Regions from separate parts of the Homo sapiens genome. Here region 2 is linked to region 1. Evidence: promoter capture Hi-C in human tissues and cell types (Jung and others, 2019). All regions are on one chromosome and are shown on one strand. Each heading gives the region's core, a stretch centred on a gene start or on the middle of the fragment in contact. The rest is flanking DNA. Distances are from core to core; before and after follow the strand shown. Region 1 holds the start of SORL1 (sortilin related receptor 1). Region 2 overlaps GRIK4 (glutamate ionotropic receptor kainate type subunit 4).

The links. Contacts are between HindIII fragments. The study calls those that stand out against the background at their distance.
Region 2: a contact is called between a fragment that was not itself captured here and the fragment with the promoter of SORL1 in region 1, in 1 of the 25 tissues and cell types used here (IMR-90 fibroblasts).

What each region holds. Positions count from the first base shown.
Region 1 is chr11:121,449,516-121,455,119 of GRCh38, reverse strand. SORL1 (sortilin related receptor 1) reads right to left here and starts at 2,806. Exons shown (of 48, transcript NM_003105.6): 1 at 2,504-2,806. The coding sequence starts at 2,788. It overlaps SORL1-AS1 (SORL1 antisense RNA 1), which reads left to right and starts at 2,153. Exons shown (of 3, transcript NR_183636.1): 1 at 2,153-2,445; 2 at 5,221-5,424. RefSeq lists silencers at 796-845, 2,690-2,739, 2,870-2,919 and enhancers at 1,970-2,019, 2,040-2,109, 2,150-2,199, 2,210-2,399, 3,790-3,849. The HindIII fragment of the contact is 11,875 bases long and covers 1-5,604 here.
Region 2 is chr11:120,924,114-120,929,717 of GRCh38, reverse strand. All of the region lies in intron 13 of GRIK4 (glutamate ionotropic receptor kainate type subunit 4), which reads right to left. Among named protein-coding and RNA genes, the nearest start is that of TBCEL, 97 kb to the left of the region's middle. RefSeq lists a silencer at 3,489-3,588. The HindIII fragment of the contact is 4,235 bases long and covers 674-4,908 here.

The DNA.
Region 1 (5,604 bases), core at 1,557-4,056:
ATTCCCCAGCTCACTGCACCTCCATAGAACCACACTCAAGTCAAGCAGTACTGTTGGAAAACATCACCATTCCTTAGGTTTAAACGTTGAAGGGGAAAGTCGTGATTACAAAGTGGAACTTGGCTTAAGGCTAAAAGTAGGACCATATAATTTATTGTCACATCTTGACACTTTTGAGAGTGAAGGGGGTGCTATTCATAACCACCAGAGACAACTTAGAAACCAGGTCTGCCCCAGGGAAACACAGAGGCAATGGTCATCCTTGCTAGAAAGATCATTCCAAATAGATGTTAGTTACTCCAGAGTTCCAAGAGGGGCACCTCAAACCCCTTCAGTCACCAACCTGTGCTTGCATTCTGAAGGGTCTGCACCAGATAGAACTTGTGGCAGAAAGCCCAGTACAGGGAAGTTCTTCCTTTTATCTGACTCAAATCCTTACAGATTCAAATTAATTCCACTTCTTATTAACCTCAGAGCAAGAGGCAACAATGGCATAGGAAGGCAGCCACAGAGAAGAAAAATCTCACCCTTGTACCCTCACCCTCCGGTTAGGAATTCCTCATTATGAGTTTGACTGCTAGTTCTCCATCCTTCAGCTGAACCAAACTCAATCTGGCTGGCCCAGAAACTCAAAAGCCCAGGGTTTGGGAGTCACTCCCAGTGAGAACAGAGTTCATGTCCAACCTGCCCCACATCCCCTGGAGCTTTTCATAAACCAAACCCAAGAAAGAAATGGCACATGTACACATATTTTTGAAACCAGAAAACTTTTTCCTCAACCTAAACTATAGCTTCAGGGGACCTGAGCACTGGGAGGGATTGTCTCCCACCAGCCCCCAACTCCCAGTTCCCAGAATGCTGATTCAAGAGCACAGCAGAGCTGGGCTGACTGCGGAGGCCCAATGAAGAAGTGGGCCACTCCTCCTCCTTCTCCCACCCTCCATCAGCCCCATGCTGGTGTCGCTGTTAAGAGCAAGGACCTTGATGACTTCTTTTTGTTCATACACATATTTGTCATATGGGGTGGGGACAGGGGGACAAGGATCTGGGCCCAAGAGGAACTGAGCATGCAGGTTCCTGCAGCCTGTGGCCACCATTAGTTACATGCCCTGGGGCACACATTCTTGCCCAGGGACCAATAGTGGAGGGAAATCCAACGCTCCCACCCAGTCACCACCATCCTTTCCCCCTTTATACCAGATCTATTTTATTTTAGAAAGGAGGTATTTCAGCAGCATTGCATAAAGACAGGGTGACTGCAGTCAAGCAAAGGTCACTGAGACAATGCAGACAAAAACTAGAGAGCAGGCCACCTTCCCGGTATGACCTTGGACTAGTCACTTCACCATTCCACGCTTCAGTTTCTTCACCAACAAAATGACACAATAGGGTGATATGTTTACAAGGTTCGTCCTGGATCCAAGGGTTGAACATTTAACTCTGTATTTCCTGAAGAAATGGCTAAAGTGAAATTAGTGAGAAAAGGCAGAACTCAGGGTAATCTTTTATTAATAATTTCTACTTCAAAAGGAACAATTTGACTCTAGAAAACAAGTGTATTTACCCCCTCCTCTGGTCCTACTTTTTCTCCCCCACCGACCTTATACTTTTGCTGATGTCAATCTTAACTGCAGGACTGGGAGTCTCATGAGGCAATAACACGGTCAAATTAATTTTGCCAGTGCTGATCCTAACCTACAAACTCCATCTGCAATTCCTCGCAGTAAGTCTGACCATAAAAGTGAAATTCACGTTACTTATGATCTAATAAACCTATTGCCTGGGTAGAAATAAATCACTTATAGAATAATAATGCCCACCAAATTTCCTGCAGTCCTTTCAAATCTCCAAGTGCCATGAGGGGTATTCCTCTCCAAAATAAAGTTATCTTGACGGGGGTGGGAGAGTCAGCATCTTGAAGGGTGGGGAAGAAGGAATGGAGAGCATCTCACACGCTCGCCAAAAATTAAAAATTAAAAATTCAGCCTTTACACACGCACACACATACACACACCTCTTGTCTGACTGTACAGAGATAGTCGACAAGCTTTCAGGTTTGCCCACTTTTATTGTGCTAATAATGCTAAGTGTGGAAACCCCCACCTCGTGCTGTTCTGTGTAAGTGTACCGCAACTGCAGGGTGCTCGCCTCCACTGCCAACTGATGATACACTAAAGAAAGCCCGTTTTTTATCCAGATGTAAAATGAAGCTGCACCCCTCCTATACCTGCCGGAAACTACATCTCTCTGCACACACCCTGGGGTAATACGCACTGCACCCGGCGAGTTACCTGGAATACGTTTACTAAATCGACAGGAAGAAGGAAAGATCAATGCGATTCAAGTGCTGACGGTTGTACTCGTGAAGGAAAAAAACAAATGCAAGCCGGGAAGTCCCCAGTGGTGCCTGCACCTAGGAGGCGACTGCAACGGATGGATGCGGGGGTGAGGAAGTGCAGGGAGAGGAAAAAACTGGAGGGAGGCGGGTTGCAAAACTGCTCACCTGTCCGTACACCTTGATGGGCTCGGGCTGCAGGGCAGCGCTCCGTTTCCTCCGGAGCGGCTTCTCGTCCGCGCGGCTCGCCCCCCTGGCATCCCCGCGCGCCCACAGCCGCAGCTCGCGCGGGTCGCCCTGCACCACGAGGAAGCCCCGGTCCTGGGGCAAGGGCGCGCTGCCGCCGTGCAGCCTCTGCGTCCAGACTTCGCAGAGAGCTCCGGGCGGCAGCAGTGCGACCAGGGTGAATAGGAACGGGAGTCGCGACTCCCTCCTGCTGCTCCGTGTCGCCATGTTCGGGCGAACGCTACTGCAGGTGGCGCCGCCGCCAGGAGAGAATGTGCAGCGCGAGGCCAGGAGAGCCGCTGGGCCGGGACCGCGCGCGCCGCTCCCGGGGCTCCAGGCCGCCCGCGCCGCTCCGGGCCGCCCCGCTGCGCCCGCCGCCGCTGCCGCCAGGTCCCGCTCGGTTCGGCGCGGCGCCGTCACGTGTGAGGCTCGCAGCGCGTCCCTTTCGCGCACTTTCTGCGCTCGGCGGCCTCGGCGGCGACTCCGGCCCCTCCCTGGCGCGGGGATGGGGAAGTTAAGGCAGCGAGCGCCGGTGGGGGTGCGTCCCTTCCCTGGCGGGCACACCTCCTTGTTCTCCCTGCAGGAATGAAGAGTTGCATGGGGCTCGCTCGTTTTCTCTGGAGTTAGTTGCGTCCTATACAGGGTCGTGTCGAGGTCGTCCTAAACCGTGGCCACTTTCCTGAGTGCACAGCCCGCAGTAGCGCCACAAGACCACCTCCCCCCGGCCCCGGCCTCATCCCCACCTCCAGGGAAGAGTCCAGAGCCACAGAATTAGCTCCTAGAACGCAACCAACAAGAGTCCAGATGAACCCGCTCTATTGGGAAACTCACAGTTTTTCATCTACTCTGGGCACCACAACGTATTTGCAGGGGCCACAGCAAAAACTACCCTTGATCAAGCTACGTGCCCCAGCCTGAAGCACAGCAAATAAACATCCTGCACAGAGGCAGTAAAAACAAGGGTACATCTGACAAAGAATGCACCACACCTGGACAATTATTACACAGCTATACAGGGTGTGCTTGCACGCACGCATGAATACCTGTGCGTGGCACAGGGCCCCAGCGGCGGCTTGCTTATGATCCCTCCAAGGTGACCAAGCACTGAGCCACCCTGCCTCAGCAGTAAAATAGACATATTTACCAGTCCCTTCAACCCACAGCCAGGAGCTAGGCAAACACCCACAGAGGAGGGAGGACACACTTTAACCCTACATTCAGCTTGACGAGCCAAACTCTCTGAACCACAGGAGATAAAACTTCTGCCATGGAACTGCTAAGGTACGCCCAAGGAAAATATTTTTTTTGCAGGTTAGTGGGAGCAGCCAAAGTCTATGTACTACTGCAACCTTTCCTATTTCATTTTATGTTTCACTGCCCTCTGAACTCAGATCCTGGTTTTTGATAAGAATAAAGACACAGCAAGCAGGGCTGAAAGGGAGACTACCTTTATAGTTGCATACAAGCTGCTGTTCAGGGGAAGGAAGGGATGGTCAGTTCAATTTTCTAAAAACATTCCTCATCTCCGACAAGCCACGGTAGCCCGATTCCTACCCCGGCCCACTCTAGTACTTTTCAGGTAGCTTAGCAAAGCCCCCTCCTCTACCTAGGACTACCACTGACAACCTGCCAGAGTCAGGCCAGCTTGCCTCATCTCCCTGAAGCCAGTATTCAACCACCCTACCCTACCCCATGCCAGACTTGCTGGGGACCTCTGCCTCAGGTTCTGCACTCTCCCACCTCCTCCCACACCCGATTTTCTCCCCAAGTCAGATGATGTCTTTCTGTCCATCTCAACATAATTACAGAACCATCCAGTTCTCCCCACCAAGCAAATCATGCATTCTCTATGTTAACCACCCTGCTTTGTTCATTATACATTGTATACAGGTATCAAAATACCACACTTTCCCCAGTGTGGTATTATTGGGGTGCCTTCATCCTGCACCCCAACTTTGATGTTATTTCAGAGGGATTGAGGAAGTGGTAGCTTGTTTACAACCCAGAGCTGGTTTTGAAGCTGAGAGGAACGCCTTGCTCATATTGTGCAATTCAGCTCTAACTCATATATATAACATATATATTTATTATATACTTATATATGTCAATTAAAAATAATAATTCAAACAATCATGCATCCTCCAAGAAAGCCACTGAACCACTGTCACCTCCCACCCCTCATCTAGATCAGCTCTGTCTGGTCAGCATCACCTTACCAGGAATGGACAACCCCATGGTCTCTCAGGACCAGCAGCAAAGATATCTCTACTCCCATTTAGCCCTCAAAGGAAAATGAAGGGAATATGGCTAAAGTGAGAACATCCTGTAGATGATTCAATTATTGGGGTTTTTCCAACATATATTTAATGAGAACCTTCTCTGCAAGAGCAAGTGTCAGAGTCCCAGCAGAAAACAGAGACAGGAGTCTCCTAAGTGTGGATTTGAAGATGGGCATCTGTTTGCCCACACAAACTGCTGGCTTAAGGTTCAGATGGCCCCTTGCACAGAAGGACTAGTAGGGCAGGGCCAGCTACTTGCTCATTTTGATGTTGATTTGCAACTTGAATGCTAGAGAATTGGTAAGAATATTCAAACATGGTTAATTAACTCCTTGCAAGCCCTCCTATCTAATCATTATCTACATTCCAAACCATTCTCAGGTAGATAATCAGCAACCCCCCAAGACTGTGCCTGCTGCACAACTACAGAACGCAGTGGAAGACACGCTGAATTCTGAGTCAGAAGGTTGACTTTCTAGCTGTGGGGACTTGGCCAAACCTCCTCAGAGCTTCAGTTTTCTCATCTGTAAAATAGAGATCTTAATCCCTACCAATCTCACAGGACTGCTGAGAGTATCAGATGAGGTAAGTATATAAAATAGCTGTGCAAATTTGTGTGAAGGCCTCCAGAGAGAAATAGTGCATGCAGGTGGCATTAGAAACATAGATTCTAGTCCTGGCTTTGCAACCAAATTATTATGTAATTTTTTGTCTTGATCATCTTGTCTCTTACGATTTCTTCATAAGTTAAATGAAAAGACACCT
Region 2 (5,604 bases), core at 1,542-4,041, 530 kb after region 1:
CTCCAATCTGGCTTAAAGCAGCTATCAGCGGAGGGGTGTTAATTACAGCCCGGGAAGGAATGGAGATGACAGGCCCAGGCTGAGCCAGAGGCCAGAAGACTGGCTCCACGGAGCTGCTTCCCAATTCTCCCCAGGCCCCAGTCCTTTTGTGCTGTGCATTTGAGCAGAATAACATCTGTATCTCAGCCCATTTCAAATTAGATTATCTGCTCACTTCCTGTCTTTTGATCAGTTTACCTGCGGGCGGCTTTCTCCCTCCCACCCGCACCTATTGAGATGCCCAGGGAACTTGCCAGGACTCACTGGGGTCACCGAGCTGCAGGGCAATGGGATCAGAAGGAGCCAGGGAGGCTCACTCCCACTCCTGGCCCACACGAGCATCCGCAGGGCTCATCCCTTAGACTTCAGCGTCACATGCCTGAGAACACACACATCTGCTCTCCTGCCACATGAGTCAGGCTGTCTGCCCACGCCACCCGCCGCGGGCTGGAGACAAAGAGAAACTCTTAGGGGTCACATGGCACCTGCAAAATATTTGGTGTCCTTGTCCACTGGGGAGACTGGATGCCAACCCCACCACCTCTCCCTTCTTTCAGAACCAGGATATAGGAACAAAGATCAGGGAATAAAGGAACAGTAAATAGCACCCAATTGTTCACCTGTGCCAACACACAGACACACACACACACACACATGTGCGCACACACACATACACGCGTGCACGCGCGCACACACACACACACACACACACACACACGTCTTTGCTAACCAGTGCGAGCCCATGTTTGTAGAAATCATCCCTGCTCACTGGGCCAGGCCTATCCACAGCAATGATTGAAGAGGCAGAGGCCCAGTGGAGCATTAGCATTCCTGGGAAAGTGGCAATGTCATCCGCAGGTCCAAGTGCTCCCTGGTGCTATTTCTCGAGGTTACAGCTTACTCTCGGGGCTGGATGAATTTCTTTAGAGTTAAATTAAAGTCCCCATGAAATATTTAGTTGGCTCGGCACAGGGCTGTGTTATTGGCCTATAGAGGGCAGATTTTAGGAACGAACCAGCGCTAAGGAAAGAAGGGGCTGGCAGTTCATTTGCAGGTGAAATTATGCGGCACAGAGGTCCAAGCTGACTCAAGAGGCCAAGCAGATACTATTTACCCTTGACCCTCTTGTTACAGGCTTCTATTCACTGGCCCACGAATCCTCAATCCTCTTGCTTTTTGGGGTCAGGCAGATGCATGTTTGAATCCCGACTCTGCCATTCACCAGCTGAGCAATTACCAGAAATCTGAGCTTCAGTTTCCTCATCTCTAAAATAGGCAAAATAATGTATACTTCTTAAGATTGTGGTGAGGGTTAAATTCAACTCCCTGTGTAAACAGAGCTCATGTGAGGTCCTGCTTCTTACAATCCCCTCTTCCCGTTGCAGCCAGAGGGGTCTTTGGGAAAGCTAAAGCAGACGATGCCATTTTTCTCCGTGTCGCCTTCTAGCTTTTTTTTTTTTTTTTTAAGACGGAGTCTTGCTCTGTCTCCCAGGCTGGAGTGCAGTGGTGCGATCTCGGCTCACTGCAGCTCCACCTCCCAGGTTCCAGCCATTCTCCTGCCTCAGCCTCCCGAGTAGCTGGGATTACAGTTGTGCACCACCATGCCCGGCTAATTTTTGTATGTTTAGTAGAAACACGGTTTCACCACGTTGGCCAGGCTGGTCTCTCACACTCCTGATCTCAGGTGATCCGCCTGCCTCGGCCTCCCAAAGTGCTAGGATTACAGGCATGAGCCACCATGCCTGGCCTGCCTTCTTAATATTTTTTTATGCCATGGACCTCTTTAACAGTCTGCTGATACCTGTTAACCTCTTATTTTAAAATATTTTAAAATGACTACATAGAAATTCAGTTATCAAAATATGTGTACACTTTTTGTGCTATAGTGGTATCTGTGCCTCTTTACATAACAAGAGCTGGAAGTGTGTCTAACAGCAACACTAAATTAATACCATTGGTGACAAAGTCACAGGTGTGGTTAATACCATGAAGCTTTGTTGACCACATTCATAATTGAAGGAAATATTACATTTCTGTTTGAACTTAGAAAAATATATAGATGTTAATTTTTCCTTTCTTTCTTTCTTTCTTTTTTTTTTTTTTTTTTTTTTTTGAGACAGAGTCTCACTTTGTCACCTAGGCTGGAGGGCAGTGATGTGATGTGGTTCACTGCAACCTCCGCCTCTCAGGTTCAAGCAGTTCTCCTGCCTCAGCCTCCTGAGTACCTGGGACTACAGGCACGCACCACCACACCCAGCTAATTTCTGTATTTTTAGTAGAGATGGGGTTTTGCCATGTTGGCGAGGCTGGTCTCGAACTTCTGACCTCAAGTGATCAGCCTGCCTTGGCCTCCCAAAGTGCTGGGATTACAGGTGTAAGCCACTGTGCCCGGCCAATTCTTCCTTTCTAGTTTTGTGGACTCTCAATGCTATCCTCAGACCATGGGTGTATGTGGACCTAGGAAAAGAACCGAGAGACTTCCAAGTTCATAAAGACCCAACTCCTTACCGTGGCCCACCAGGCGTTGGTGATACGGCAGCCCATTCACCACAGTCTAGCTAGTCATGCTAACCCCCATCCTGATTTCTGAACATGACAAGTTCACTTTCCACCTTGGGGTCTTGGAGTTTACTCTTTCCCCTCCACATATGCTCTGCCCTGGCCATGGCCCAGCTGGCTTCTCACCGTTCTGACCTCAGCTCAAGCACCATGCCATCAATGCAGCCTTCCCTACTTGCCCACTTAATGGGCCCCTCTCCTCGAGACACTCTGGCTCATTATACTGCTTTATTTTCTTCACAGCGGAAATCATGACCTGAAATTGTCTTGTTTATTTACCAGTTTACCTGTTGATTGTCTAGAGTGCCATCTTCAGGAAGGAGTGACCTTTGTCTGCCTTAGTCATCATACATCTCCAGTGTCCAGAACCTGCCATGTGCCAGGCACTACATAAATATTTGTTGAATGAAGTCATGATTGAATGAATGAATAGACAAATCCAAGAAAGAGGAGCTCAGTTAACATTATTCTCTATCCTTGGCTCTCAACTGAGGGAACGATTTTGTAGTAGAATGTTTTGACCAAGGGTACACCCTCTAGGGCCAGCTCAGCCACTTACTAACTGCATAATCTTAGGCCAGTTACTTAACCTCTTTGTACCTCAGTTTCCTCATCTGGAAAATGGGGTTAGTAATATTACATACTTTGTAGGTATGTTGGGGAGGTTAAATTAATGAATACACAAAAAGCACTTAGAACAGTGCCTGAAACATAGGGAATGTTCCAGAAGTGTCAGCCTTTATTATTTTGTTGCAACTTAAAGGATTCACTTCAATTTTATTTATTTTTTAAAATTATTGTTTCAGAAAATTCAATGTAGGTATTGAAGGGAGTGAAAAGAAATCCCATGATTAAAAAACTAATATGCATTATAGATGTCAGTGTTTATATAGTTGAGGTGTGAAAGAGAAAGGGAACTGAGAGCTTAGGTCCAGGCAGGTTATGGTATGTGGCAAAGCCCAGAGAGGCCTAAGTTTCACTTCCTCACATCACTACTACCACCACCATCACACCTGACTTTCTGAAGATTGACCAACAATTTACATGTCGAATCAAGAAAAGAAATTGAATCCTATCTGAGTTTTCAGGAAGATATGCTCATTTCTTTTCTTTCTTTTTCTTTTTTTTCTTTCTTTTTTTTTTTTTGAGATGGAGTCTCGCTCTGATGCCCAGGCTGGAGCACAGTGGTGCGATCTTGGCTCACTGAAACCTCCACCTCCTGGGGTCAAGCAAATCCCCTGCCTCAGCCTCCTGAGTAGCTGGGATTACAGGCGCACACCACCACACCTGGCTAATTTTTTTTGTATTTTTAGTAGAGATGGGGTTTCACCATGTTGGCCAGACTGGTCGTGAACTCCCGACCTCAGGTGATCACCCGCCTCAGTCTCCCAAAGTACTGGGATTACAGGCGTGAGCCACTGCGCCTGGCCGATATGCTCATTTCTAACCCAAATGCACCCTTTATTGATAAAAATCTCTGGCCCACAATACAGTCACCAATAGGCCATGGGACAAGGGGCACTGAATTTTCACCAGTGAGTCCACCCTCTTCTGCCTGTCTCCCATCCCTGCTGGCTGCCAAAACAGCTGGTTAAGCTCTGGGTCGCTGACAACGGGCAAAGCTAACTGGTCCACATGGGGATCCAACCTGCAGACCTGAACTAATGAGCAAGGGCTTGTGCTGGCCTAGCCAGCCCTACACTTATTTCGAGGCTATGGGTTCCAGGCGTGATCGGGGGCCTGTGTAAAGCTGGCCTGGGCAAGCCCAGGCGACAGGTTTCTGCTGTTGTAGGAGCCCGACAGTGCCACCAGCTCACGGCGCTGTCTTCCTTTCATTTTCCCTCCCACTTGTCAGCCCTGTAATTAGGAATGGTGAGATTCACGGGCCTGTTATTAGGACTGTTTTTGTTGGGTAAAATAAAGTACCACCAACTTCTGTGGGCATCGCCCACAGCCATAGAGAACTTCTAGAGGCCTTCCCTGTGCTCCTTCTCTGTTCCCACTTTTTCACCCCATCCCCTACAGCTCCTGCTAGACAGAATGGAGGCCCCAGCTCTGCCTCAGAGACCAGCCCTGAACTGCCCCACCTCCCCAGGGAGTGAGCAGTGATGTGACCAATTGGATCCACAAAGTGGACAGCATCTGGCCCCTTCTCATTTCCTATCAGTATGTGCACACGTTGAAACCACTGCAAAGGGCAGCAGGGCATTTTCTCAGGAATCCCTGCCATTTTTTGAGGAAGAGAGCTGAAGACATTGTTCTGAACCTCTGGCCACTCTTCCTGGGTGATAAAGGTGTATTTGGTCTTTTTCTGAGAGGTGTCCCACTTGTTGACATGGCTCATATGCCCATCAATAGTCATACCCCAAAACTGTTTTTTCACAGATCGTTCTTGAGACCCACAGCAACGTCTAAGGTTGGCAGTAACCTATTTAGAGATGAGGAGAATGAGACTCAAGAAGTCATGTGGTGTTAAATTTGGAATAATGGTTACCTTTGGGCAGACGAAAGGTGTAGAGAGTGAAACAGGAAAGAGGTGGGTGGGGACAAGGGGGTCTTCAGGATGCCGCTAAGGGTATATTTCTTGATCCGGACAGTGATTGATCACACAGGGATGTCCTCTTTGTGATCATTCATTAAGCTGTCACTTACGATTTGTGCACTTTTCTATATGTCTATTTCAATATATATTTTTTTAAGTTAAGTGATTTTCCCAAGTAGGAGAATGGCCACTGTTGAGCCTGCCACTAAACGCTCTGCTGACTCTGTGGTGAGGAGCCTGGAAGGGGAGCCAGGGCTGCTGCCACGGTACCGACTGCTACAGCGGTGACCTCACACACGCAAGGGAGCCACACTCAGGCCTGGCCAACCTCCTGTGCACCTCTCTTTACACATCTGGGTGGCTTCTAATTCAAGAAGGGGTAAAATGCACATCTGGATGTTTTCATGGATTTTCATTCTCATTTGGATGAAGAAGAGTCTAGATTCCTCGTCTGGCACAAACAG